Regions from separate parts of the Homo sapiens genome. Here region 1 is linked to region 2. The links are contacts of gene promoters, found by promoter capture Hi-C in human tissues and cell types (Jung and others, 2019). All regions are on one chromosome and are shown on one strand. Each heading gives the region's core, a stretch centred on a gene start or on the middle of the fragment in contact. The rest is flanking DNA. Distances are from core to core; before and after follow the strand shown. Region 1 overlaps PITPNM3 (PITPNM family member 3). Region 2 holds the start of DHX33 (DEAH-box helicase 33).

Region 1 (6,885 bases), core at 3,769-6,268, 1.1 Mb after region 2:
AATTTTACTGAATATAAATCATAGCTCAAAATACTTAACCCAAATAGAATGAGAAGGAGGGGGAGGTGGCGGAGGAGTTGTCACTGCCAAAGCCACCATGATGAGAAAACAAAACCCTCCCCAAAAGTAAAACAGCAAAACTAATCATTAAGTTGAAATGAGAATTGGCAACATGAAACCAAATGGCCAGGGGCCATGGGAGCTGGGGAGTTAGGAAGAGAAGGAAGAAAAAAGGTACAAACATCCTTCCCTGTTCAGGGATAGCATAGATAGAGCTACTGACTTAATCCAAACCCTGGTAGAAAATGCCAGTTTTTATTTTTAATTTTTTTTTTTTTGAGACAGGGGCTCATTCTGTCACCCAGGCTGGGTTGCAGTGGAGCAAGCATGGCTCACTGCAGCCTTAACCTCCTGGGTTCAAGCAACCCTCTCACCTCAGCCTCCAGAATAACTGGGAACACAGGCACATGCCATCACACCCAGCTAGTTGTTTAATTTTTTGTAGAGGTAGGAGTCACTCTCTTTACCCAGGCTGGTCCCAAATTCCTGGGCTCAAGCGATCCTCCCACCTCGGCCTCCCAAAGTATTGGGATTACAGGCATGAGCCACTGTACCTGGCCAAAAATACCAGTTTTCAAATGTATGTTAAAACTGTACGTTTCTAGAACTACAAAAAAAGGAGGTATATAAGAAATTTGATGGTGTCAATAAAAAACAAGAAAAGGGGAAGGAGAAAACTGTATTGATAATATCTTTAATTTTATAGAGAATTTATAACCCAACATATACAGTATATAGATAATGTATATATTTTTTAACTCATAAGGAACATTCACACACCCACACTAGACCAGGGTTTAGACAAGAAAGAATTTCAAAAAGATATCACGTTAGGGTCACATTGTCCGATCATAGTGGAATCAAATTGCTAATTAACAAGAAAAAAATCTATTTGTCAGGATTCTTGTACATGGCTCTCAACAGCTCTTTGGGTAAAGAGGAGAACGTGGAGGTTTTGAACTATGTAGACATGATGGACAGTGAGGGGGCTACTTATCCAAACCCTGTGGAATGTGTCCAACATGGCTGGATGCAGGTTTTCTGGGGACTGAGGTTATACAAGTTTGGGGTCCCCTTTTAAGGAAAAGATTATCCCCCCAAAAAAGCTTACTTTTATAAATTTTACCAAAAAAAGGTAATGGGTAAAAAAGCAAAAAAAAAAAAAGGTAACCTTGCTAGGACCCTCCCTTGGAAGGGAACAGTGCGTGTGTCATTTAAAAAATAAGATTAAAAAGCTCTTATCTCTAGAAATAGAAAAGCACAAATCACATAAATTCCAAGGAAGTAGAAGGAAATAATTAATGAAATAAAAGCAATGTTAATTTACAAAAACTAAGTAGAGAAAACGGTAGACAATAGAACTGATTAATAAAAGTAAGAGCTATTTCTTTGAAAAGACCATCGAAATAGGTAAGCCTTTGGCAAAACTTACTAAGAATGAGAGAGAAAGAGAAAGATGGAGGGATGGGGAAAAACACAAATGAACAATGAGGGGAATGAGAAAGAAGTCATAACTTTCGGAAGTTAATTGTTTTCAACTTGATGAAGGGCATTTCTGGAATCCTAGGGCGAGGGCCATGTTTGTTGGTAAAACATTGGAACGTTTCCATCACAGCACTACAGTCAGGATCCAACCAGAAAGCCCGCTACCGCTTGTCACTCTGCATTGACCTGGAGATCCCATGCAATGCAGTTTAAAAGGAAAAATAAGAAAGGAGAGTAAATGCTGGCAAAAATATAACTGTTAAGATTTGTAGGCCGGGCATGGTGGCTCATGCCTGTAATCCCAGCACTTTGGGAGGCCATGGCGGGCGGATCACGAGGTCAGGAGATCGAGACCGTCCTGGCTAACAAGGTGAAACCCCGTCTCTACTAAAAATACAAAAAATTAGCCGGGCGCGGTGGCGGGCGCCTGTAGTCCCAGCTACTCGGGAGGCTGAGGCAGGAGAATGGCGTGAACCCGGGAGGCGGAGCTTGCAGTGAGCCGAGATTGCGCCACTGCAGTCCGCAGTCCGGCCTGGGCGACAGAGCGAGACTCCGTCTCAAAAAAAAAAAAAAAAAAAAAAAAAAATTAGCTGAGCGTGGTGGCGGGCAGCTGTAGTCCCAGCTACTGGGGGACTGAGGCAGGAGAATGACGTGAACCTGGGAGGCGGGGCTTGCAGTGAGCCGAGATAGCGCCACTGCACTCCAGCCTGGGCGACAGAGTGAGACTCCGTCTCAGAAAAAAAAAAAAAAGATTTGTAAACAAGGCTGGATGCAGTGGCTCACACCTGTAATCCTAGCACTTTGGGAGGCCAAGTCGGGCAGATCACTTGAGGTCAGGAGTTCGACACCAGCCTGGCCAACATGGTGAAACCCCATCTCTACTAAAAATATAAAAAGTAGCCAGGCATGGTGGCGGGCGCCTGTAATCCTGGCTATTCGGGAGGCTGAGGTAGGAGAATCACTTGAACCCAGGAGGCAGAGGTTGCAGTGAGCCAAGATCACACCACTGTACTCCAGCCTGGGTGACAGAGCAAGACTCTGTCTCCAAAAAAAAAAGAAAGAAAGAAAAGATTTGTAAATGATGTGATGCTGTAACTAGAAAAAACCCAAGAGAATCAACTGACAAACTATTAGAACCAACAGGAAATGTCACCAAAGTAGCAATATTTCAAATATATAGCAGACTAATAATTTACTTCCAGAATATATATGAAGATCTCCTAAAATCCAATAAAAAGGATAAACAATCCAATAGCATATTGGCAAAAATTATGTTTAAGAAATTCAGAGGAAAGAAAATATGATCAGTCAACACATTTATGAAAAGATGTTCAATCTCACTAGAAACTGGGTAAAGACAAAGCAAAACAAGAAAACGTTTTTACCCGACCATTACATAAAATGTTGAAGTTTGATAATATCAAATCTGGTAACACATTGTGGGGAAATGGCTAACTTAATCCATGGTTGGTGTGCAAATATAAATTTGCACTGTTTTTTGGAAAACCATTTGACAGTATCTATTGCAATTTTCAGTGCTTATACTTTAAACCCATAAAGCATTCTTATAACAATGAAAGATTCCAATGTCTATCACTGCAGAATGGTTAAATAAATTATGGTACAACTATAGTAGAGAATATTATAGTACAGGTAAAGAGAACAGAGTGAATCTATATATACCCATATGAAAAGCTCTCCAAGATCTTCTGTTAAATGTGAGGGAAGAGGTAAGTTGCAGCACTAATGTCTAATACCATCGACCTCTAGAGAGATACGTTGATCAACTCCACAAGGAGGTCTGTAATTGAAGGAATAACTAAAGGAGACTTTGGTTTTATTTGTTGTGTTTGATTTTTTCCAATGAGAATACATTTAAGAAATCAGGTGGATATTTATAATGTTTGTAGCAGCATTATTCATGGTAGCTAAAACGTGGAAGCAACCCAAACGTCCATCATCAGATGAATGGATAAACAAAATGTGGTATATCCATACAAGGGAAAGTTACTCAGCCCCCAAAATGGAATAAAGTACTGATTCATGTTGCAAGATGAACGAACCTCGAAAGCATTATGCTAAGTCAAACAGGCCAGACACAAAAGGACAAATACTGAATGATCCCACATATGTAGGGTACCTAGAGAAGTCAAATTCATGGAGACAGAAAGTAGAATGATGTTTACCAAGGGCTGGGGAAAGGAAAATGGGGAGTTGGTGTTTGACGGGCACAGTTTCAGTTGCAGAGAGTGACCAAGTTCTGGAGATGGTTGGTGGTGATGGTTGCAGAGCGATGTGAATGGACTTAATGCCACTGACCTGTATACTTAAGAACCGTTAAAATGGGCCGGGTGTGATGGCTCACACCTGTAATCCCAGCACTTTGGGAGGCCGAGGCAGGTGGATCACTTGAGGTCAGGAGTTCAAGACTAGCCTGGCCAAGATGGCAAAACCCTGTCTCTACTAAAAATACAAAAATTAGCTGGGGGTGGTGGCGGACGCCTGTAATCCCAGCTACTTGGGAGGCTGAGGCAGGAGAATCACTTGAACCTGGGAGGCAGAGGTTGCAGTGAGCCAAGATCACACAACTGTACTCCAGCCTGGGTGACAAAGCGAGACTCCGTCTCAAAAACAAAAAAAATTGTTAAAATGGTAAATTTTATGTTATGCATATTTTACCACAATAAGAAATGTTACACAAAAATAACAAGACAAACAATTGCAAAAATAATAATAGTATAATAAATAATAATATTTGAACAATTGTAAAATAATAGTAATAACAACACGCTTCTGGGTGTTCAGCTGGTGCTGAAGGATCCCTTTCCATTAAAAAAAAATATATATATATACTGGGCAATATGTTGCCAAAAAAGATAAATATATAACCAAGCTTAAAATAAAAAATGTATAATACACAGTGCCAGAAACAAAAAAGGAATCCAGAGACGAAAGCAGAAGCTGAGATAGAGGAGATCCGTGAATCCCATGAGTCAGACGAATAAAGAAAGAGGCTCCAGGGCCAGAGCCTAAAAACCACACTGTGAACTCCACCAACCTGACCTCAGCCTGTGGATGGCAAGGAGCTGATGTGGCACCCACTTTATAGCAGGGACACTTGAAGGGCCATTCCATCCTTACAGGAACTTACAAAAAGAACCTTCTTTGCGGAAGCGGCAAAGAAACCATTCACAGACAGTGAGAGAGAAAATTCACACATGAGTAATTAAAACCCTAAGCCTGTGCCACTTCTGGGTGTAGGGTCTAAATTTACACCACCCATGTAGAATGGAAACTCTAAACTATAAATTTAGCCTATAAAATATTCAAGATTAGTGAAACACTCAGGCCCAGCAGGAAACAAGGCCGGTCTTTATGAGGACATTTTCCCAACCTAGGGCACAAAAGACTTCCCCCAAAAAGAAAAGAGAGGTATGTGTGACCAAGATGAGTTCACAATCACAAATGAGAAAGAAGACCCATGAGGTATATTTAGTGTGCGCACACACACACACACACACACACACACAGAGCAGAATTAACACCCTTGAGAACTGGAGGGATGAGAGCAGTCTGAAAGTGCTGATGAAATATATGACTTAAATGGTTAGGGAGAGAAAAGGTAAAATACAAAACAGAATTCAGGCTTAAAGGGAAGAAGGTTGGCTCCATTTGGAATTTGTGGAGCATAAGGAGTCTTTAGGACATCCAGGTAGAGGTTAGCAGGAGGTTACCAAAAATGCGAGTGTGGAGCCCAGAAGAAAGGTCCTGGCTGGAGATAGAGCAAGGAGTTGTCATCGAGGTGGCTGGAGCACCCATGGAGGCAGTGTGACTGGCCAGAGCGTCCAGCATGAGGCAGGGGAGGGGGGCCTGGAATGAGTCCTGTGTCTAAGGGCAGGCAACTTGAAGAAGACAAGAGGATCTGCTCTGTCTATGCCACCAATTTCCATTGCATTCCTTTCCAGGAAGAGTTCACGGATCTTCCTTTCCCCAAGATACTTCCCAGAGCCTCTCAGAGCCTTGTCCCAGCCTGCCTTACTGCATAGTAACCCCTGGCTCTGATCTGTCGCTTCCACTCTGCTGCAAGCTTCTCAGGAATGACAAGGCCATCCTGCTTGTCTTTATTCCCCCTACATTGAGCACAGGGTTGAGCCCCTGTGATGGCTCCATAAATGATTATTGAAATGAATGTGTGTGTTCTGTCATGTTGTGGGAATTCACATTATGAATTCACACGAGAATGGGACTTGGAAGGAGCTGGAAATCCAGCTGGTTTCCTCTTCCTCTTACCCTCTCTCCTCTCTTCTTCCCGCTCCCCATTCTGTACTGGGAGGAAATAGTACCAACCCTCGGACTCAGGTAAGCACTGCCCTTCATTCATGAGCATCAGGAAGCATTTGTGAGGGCTGCCACTTGTGCAACATTGGTCATGCTTCTCCCCCTTCCATCATTATAAGAATGACCTGCTATCGAATGCACTTTGCAAATATCATCTCATTTAATCATCACAGCTTTTTTACTAGTCCTCCACTCTGCAGATGAAGAAACAGAAGACCAGGGAGGTGATGTGACTTTTCCTGACCACACAGCCATGGAGTGGCATGGCTGAAGTTCAAACCCAGGCCTCTCTGACTCCAGCACTGCAGCTTCTGCCTCTGTCCTGGACCTCCCGCTGTGCTTCCTCGTCCCCTGCCCTCCAGTGCCCTCCCAGCTCACTCTGCCTCTTGCTCACCTGACCGACTGCCCTTAGCTCTCACTGGGTCTGAGTCATACATTCTTTAGCAGACAAGTGGGGATGGGGGATGGGAAGGGGATGGCCAAATGGATGGTACAAATCCATATTTGTCTTTTCAAGGCTACAAGCACTATTGTGGGGCAGGACCTAGAATCCATGACCCCTTCTAGGCCCCCTCTGGGGTTCTTGGGATGAAGGAAAGAGCAGCAAAGGACCCACTGGCAGATACATGGCTATGACGACTGGTAAGTTGTCTCTGGATTGCCCTTGGGGGCCAGAGTCAGAGCCCCCCCTTCTCGTGGATGGGACAGTGGTACAGGGTGCCTTTCCTTTCAGACTCATGGTTCCTTGAGCCTGACTTTGTTGGGGCCCAGAACTGTGCCAAGCCTTAGTCCAGTCCGGGAGGTGAAGCCCTGGACTGGGAATCAGAAGACCAGGAATCTGAGCCTGATGTTGCCACCAGCTTGGGGGACTTTGGGCAAGACGTGGCTCCTCTGAGCCTGGGTTCTTTGTTGGTTAGATGGGATGACCACACCAGGCCTGCCCATTTCTCAGGATGAGTGCTTTGGCAAAAGGAGAGCTCTGAACCAAGGAGGCAAGGATGG
Region 2 (6,208 bases), core at 1,199-3,698:
CTCGATGGGATGGATCCACGATCAATAGTGTCAGAGATAGTCTGTGAAAGTCATGAAAAATTTTATGAGAGGAAATGTATGCAAGAAATGTTTTACAATTTAAAAGTGATTAGGCCTCCTGAATGCTTTATAAAATGTCACCATAACTCTTAGCTGTAGAACTTGCCTGCTTTGCAGCTAGGTAAAACCTAGGACACATGGAGCTAAATGCTGAAATAAGCCAGACCTTAACTGCACTTCTGTCTAAGTCCTAGGCTGTACACCTAGCACATAATTAAAATCCCGAACTTACCAAGGTTTTCAACAAAGGTAAAGGTTGCTAAAAGTTAACAGTGTAACATGTATTTAAAACTATTGAAGAGACACTTTATGTGCAAGGTGTGTAAGGAAAGTAAAGTACACTTTCGGTAAAAAGATTATCAGGAGGGATAAGAATGCACATTTTTACCTACGTTAAAAGGTTAAATAATTGTTTTGAGGGGGCCAGGTGCGGTGGCTCACGCCTCTTTCTATATCAACCAATCGGGCCTAGTAAAAAGCGCTGCTAAAAAACGTAAAGAAAAGGCTAAAAAGCTAAGGGAGTACCAAAACCACCAAATGGACTCTTGGTTTGAAAACAAAATCATAGCATGGGTCATCCCATTCCTGGGCCCTCTCCTAATAATATGCCTGGAACTAATGTTCTTACCCTGCCTAATTAATCTTTTTCAAAGATTTTTAACTGACAGGATCATGGCAATTTCACAAACAACTACCCAAAAACATCTACAGACGGCATTGCTCCTAGTCAACCCGAGACCAGGAAACTCTCCATCCCCTCGTTGCAGGAAGTAGCCAGAAAGAACATGCCGTCCCTCCTCCTTTTTATAACTATAGGGTCTGGATTGACAAAGCAGGAACATCACCATCTTGGACAAGCCCCTCATTCAAAAGTTCACCTTAATAAAAAACCGCCTAAATCCAAAAGGTATCAGCCTAATGGCTAAGGTCAGCACGACCATAAACCACAAATAACATCTCCAGCCAGAAACATTCCAAACTCCTCCCCGACCAGAGACATGTTAAGGGATAACCCCACTCTGGCCGGGAATATGCCAGCCGGGAATATGCCAGCCGGGAGATAAACCCCCTCGGGCCGGAAAAATGTCTGCCCCAAGATAACATCCCCTGCTCCCAAAGAGTCCAACCCTGCCAAAAACTTCTCCACACATATAAACATTCCAAGCTTGTGATAAGCCCCCTCACCCTAACACCAATATATACTCTTAGTCTGTAAGAGAAAGGGCTCCTGACCGAAATCGGCCAGGAGCGCCTCTCAGGTTTTAACTAAAGAAAAGCTGTCTTTAACTGCCAGCCGCGTTTCGTGTTTCTTTCCTTTTTCTTTAACTCTTACAAATAGCTCACATCCAAATCCAGTGGGCATCACATCCAAGTCCAGTATAACCGGACTTGACTGCTGCATCTGCTCACTCTCTATTCCTTTGACTAGCAGCACTCATGGGTCTCCTTCCTCTCTTTGGCTGCTCATCCTTTCCGTCCTTCAGTATCTCCTCTAACACGTTGGGGATCATAAGCCCCATGAAATCAGTCCCTGCCCCACAACTCTGCCTCTTTTCATGCACCAGAAACTACACCTTCCCTTTCGACCGGAATGTGTTCAGGTTCCCATCTCTCAAACGGGCTTTCCCCCCTGCCTAGAATGCCCTCCCTCCCACACGACCTCCCCAGCCGCCTCCTCACAAACCGGGTCAGATCCACTCTTCTAAGATCCGCAAGCCCCCGGTACGTTTCTCTACCCTTTTACGCGGAAGGTGAGTCTTTGCCTACACACGTTGGTCACTCTCACCGGGCTGTCCAGCGCCTCCAGGGCAGGGCTGCCGGACTCTTCTTCGAGGCCCCTCTCCAGGTCTGGCCCAGAAAAGGTATTCAGGTTTGTTGAAGCCACGAACGAAAGGGATTGAGAGGCATGTAAGAAAAACTGCTCTAGCTAAGCCACGGACGAAGTGCAAGGAAGAGCCCGCCGGCGCGGCCACTCACCGATGAGGACCGCGTTGTCCAGGTTTCGGAGCTGGGCCAACAGTTGCCCCCGCGCTTGGAAGATGGGCAGACTCCGGCGCTGCAGCTCCACAGCTTCAGGGTAGGGACTGGCCGAGGGCTGGGCCAGGGGCGGCTGCTGCCTCCGGCCTCCTCCTCCTCCTCTGCCGCCGCTGCCCGCAGTCAGCAGCATCACCACTTGCCTCCCGGGAGGGAAGGACCCAGCGCGGCTCGGAGGTCCAGAGCCTGGCCGGAATCTCTTGGCCGGCGGGAAGCCCGCCTCCTCCGGCATGTCGGGAGGGCACCGCGGCGGGAGGCGCAAGCGCCGAGAGCTCCTGCCCCCTCTCAGGTGCAGACAACAGGAGCACACCGCCCCTTCCTCGCCGCCACGTGCTGGCGGCTCCCGGCGACCACCGATGACCTCACGGCCGCCCCAGTCTTTAGAAAAAGGGACTGCATCTCCCAGCATGCCTTGGGGGCTTGGGAAGGCTTTCACTTCCTGGGGGTGGGAAAAGCAGGGCCTGAGGTACAACCAGGAAAAGGCCCGGAGCTACAACCGGGAAACACAGGATGTAAGGTTCCGTGGGACTGTAGTCTTGGTTAACGAGGTTTTTCTCATTGTTTTATTTTTTTTTTTTGAGATGGAGTTTCGCTCTTGTTGCCCAGGCTGGAGTGCAATGGCGCGATCTCGGCTCACACTGCAACCTCCGCCTCCTGGGTTCAAGCGATTCTCCTGCCTCAGCCTCCCAAGTAGCTGGGGTTACAGGCGTGCGCCACCGGGGCCCGTCTAATTTTGTATTTTTAGTAGAGACAGGGTTTCTCCATGTTGGTCAGGCTGGTCTTGAACTCCCGACCTCAGGTGATCCGCCTGCCTCGGCCTCCCAAAGTGCTGGGATTATAGGCGTGAGCCACCGCGCCCCGCCCATTGTTTTGTTCTAGTAGCATTACTTCTTTTCAGTAAACCCGCGTTTTCCCCTTCTCTGTCCAAATAACAGTCACTCTTCAAGGAAAGTACTTAATTCTGTAAAATCAATGAGAAGCGCAAACGTGCATTGTCTAATCCTCTAAACAACTTATAAGTTATGTGGTATATACTGGTTATTAGATTATCTCTAATTTACAGATTAAGAAATTGAGTCATCTTAGTCATTCAGATGTCCCCAAATCATAATTTTGTGATCATCTTGTGTTACAGAAAGGAAAACCAATTCTGATATACATGAATTTAACTCAGAAAATGACTCCTCCAACGGATGTGGTCGCCTCCAGTAATACAAGCAGAGAAAGGAGGGAGTTCAATGAAATTAAAATTGTCTTTTATCTTTCCTTTCCCCCAACCATTCCAGCCAGACTCTCAAGTTCTCTACATGGCTGTGCAACCCCATCACAGACACTTCAGTGAAGATTCAGAACTGCAGCAGAAAAAAGTAGGATTATAACTAGTTCTTCCTTACCCTCCTAAAAGTTCTTAGATGATTTGCTAATTTACCACGGAGAATGCCAAGTAGCTGTTTGCTCTTACAGGAAATGTGATTTCCAGAGAATACACCGTAAGCTTCAGCTCATGTGAAGGGTATCTTCTGAAGCTCGTTTCCATGAAACTCGCCCTGTTAAATATCTCCCTTCCCGTGATTCGTGAGAGAGCTAGTCTAAAAACAAAAAACCTCCCCTTTGCTCCAGGTCGGAGATAATTTTCCTCTAGTTGCTGACAGTTTGGTGACCAGGCATTACTGAAAATGTGCACGTTGAACCAGCAGCAGATTTGTGTTTAAGAATAAACTGACAAATTTTCACTTCCTACCCTGAAATATTTAGAAAGGCAACCCAAAACTACAAGGGATAATAAATGTTAACTCTCAAATTATGGACTTTGAGTAAAGACATCCCAGTCCTTTTTCCCAGTGTGCTTTCCAGAGTAACTTAAGGTAGGAGTCCGATGTTCCAAATGATTACAATAATTTAGGTAATGTAAATGGGTGGACTTATTTCTTGATGGAGCACATTCCACCTCTACATGCAGCCCCTAATCATTTCTAGGCAATGGCTGTCATGTAGACCTATTATTGCCAGATCTTCCAATTTTCTCAAGAAAAGCCAAAAGTGAAGATTTTTATCTGTCAATGTTAAATACAGGTTTAAACTTAAAAAAAAAAAAAGTACTGTCAAAACAAAGCACATAGGTAGGTAACAAATCTGTAGGTAACTCATCCATAATCTCTGGCCTAATGATCCAGCTATTCTATAGCCTCAAAGCTAAGAGGACCAAAGAGTGGAAAAATTAAGTCCTATATATGCATCAAGCCATGCTGCTCACATTTCTCCCATTGGTAGACTGAAATCTGCTGTTTCTCCTGAAGAAGTCTCTTGGGGTTCACCAGCTTTCATATGTAGATACTGACAAGCTAATAACTATTCAGAGAATATCCTGGTTCTTCCTTCAAACGACGAAGTGTCAGACACATTTCATTTTTAACTTGTCTGGGATGGTCTGTGGACTTAACTGGTCTGATCACGACCATAACAGCTGGTGGTCACCTTTGCTTTTCCGACCACCAAATTACTGCCCTTGATCATGTTCAGTTTCCCTCTATCCCACTTTCAGAGACAACCACAAGCTTCAGCAACTAGGCTCAAGCTTGCATGCATACACTTTAATCCCTCTATAATTAAAAATACCAGATAATACTTTGCTGATCAATAAACAAAGGTATTTATTCAGCACCCATGTGCCAAGCACTGTGCTAGGCACTGTGGTGGATACAAAAATTAAGACATGGTCCCTGCCCTTAAGGAGCTTACATTCTCATGAGGGAGACAAGACTAATATACATGTACCAGCTAGGAACAGTACAAGACAATATATAATTTGGCGTTAAGAATGTCATACAGACTTGAAGCTTTATAGGGATTCAGAGACAGACAATAAAATAGGCCTTAGAGTCAAGATTTTTTGAGGAATCAGGAACAAGGCCAGGCCTTGAAGAACTGAAGAGACTTAAGTTGAGGTCCCTGTTAGGTAGAAGTGGGAGTAAAGTTAAGAAAAAAACAAGTATGCATATAATGTAGGGGCTTACTAAGAAGTCACTGTGGATTTCTGAGCAGAGGAGTGACTTGATCATACAAGATTCAACAATTTTATTGCAAACTCATAAAATATGTTTAAGTAGCCTGGAGACATCCTACAGAACACAGAAAATAATGGCAGGATCATGACTAACAACATAGCTGGAACTCACCTGTCAAAGAAAAACAGCTACAACATAAAACACTGGCAGGATAGATGACAATAGTTCTAGGAAGCCCATTACTCAACATGGCAATAGCTCCAATGCTTCCTTATTTTCAGAGGCCCCAGAGACTGAGGGTTTCATTATCCAGACCCAGGACTTAGGTGTTCTGCTTCTAGAGACTACACAAGAGGTATGAAAGATATGAGGACATACAAGAGTGACACAGAAAAAACAAGAGGAAGAGAGAAACAAATAGAAATCCATACTGGAAAAAAACGCACCGAAATGTATATAAAATGTATCTCCTAAGGAGATGCAATTTGTATGTCCATTTATTTTTAAATGAACGTATACCGTATTTCCATAACAAACAAAAAACACTATGCTTTAGTCAAGTGTGCTTTTCAGTATCACTAGAAGAATCCAGGAATCCCTCAAATTATGTGTAAGGTTAGTTGGTTGGTCTCAAAATTCCATGTATCAAATCTCACTTTCAGTTTATTTGCATTGTGAAAGGGAAGTGTGTTCTGGAAGAACTAAGATTGAGAGGTAAATTGGGGAGAAAGTAAGGACTTTTCCTTATGTCCATTCAAGCACAGGTATCCTGTCAAGCAACACAGGGCTAGGAATGGTGGTTGTAGGGCTGGCCAAACTGATGAGAGGTGATTGAAATTACCACTGCTCAGGACACAGTGTAGTCAGTCACACAGCAGGGCATCCTGCCACTGGGAACTTGCACCCTATAAAATCGGAGAAATCAAAAACCCTGTAACTGCCTGCCTTTAGGCTGTATATTCAAAATGTATTTCCTGTTTTACCTAGTCATTAATGTATACAGATATTCCCTACTTAAATGAACAGTGAGTTAACAGATTTTAGGATTAGTATTTTACCACAAAAATGCCATTCATTGCATAACTCCAACTCAGGGAGAACAAATAAAA

What was found. The method cuts DNA at HindIII sites, captures the fragments that hold promoters and counts their contacts. A contact is called where the count stands out against the background at its distance.
Region 1: a contact is called between a fragment that was not itself captured here and the fragment with the promoter of DHX33 in region 2, in 1 of the 25 tissues and cell types used here (dorsolateral prefrontal cortex).

The regions. Positions count from the first base shown.
Region 1 is chr17:6,517,240-6,524,124 of GRCh38, forward strand. All of the region lies in intron 3 of PITPNM3 (PITPNM family member 3), which reads right to left. Among named protein-coding and RNA genes, the nearest start is that of PITPNM3, 36 kb to the right of the region's middle. The HindIII fragment of the contact is 4,432 bases long and covers 2,803-6,885 here.
Region 2 is chr17:5,466,534-5,472,741 of GRCh38, forward strand. DHX33 (DEAH-box helicase 33) reads right to left here and starts at 2,449. Exons shown (of 12, transcript NM_020162.4): 1 at 2,038-2,449. The coding sequence starts at 2,326. DHX33-DT (DHX33 divergent transcript) reads left to right here and starts at 2,559. Exons shown (of 3, transcript NR_135644.1): 1 at 2,559-2,606; 2 at 3,381-3,461; 3 at 3,559-3,827. DERL2 (derlin 2) reads right to left here. Exons shown (of 7, transcript NM_016041.5): 7 at 4,721-6,208. RefSeq lists enhancers at 1,501-2,083, 1,873-2,092, 2,473-2,542. The HindIII fragment of the contact is 7,597 bases long and covers 1-4,119 here.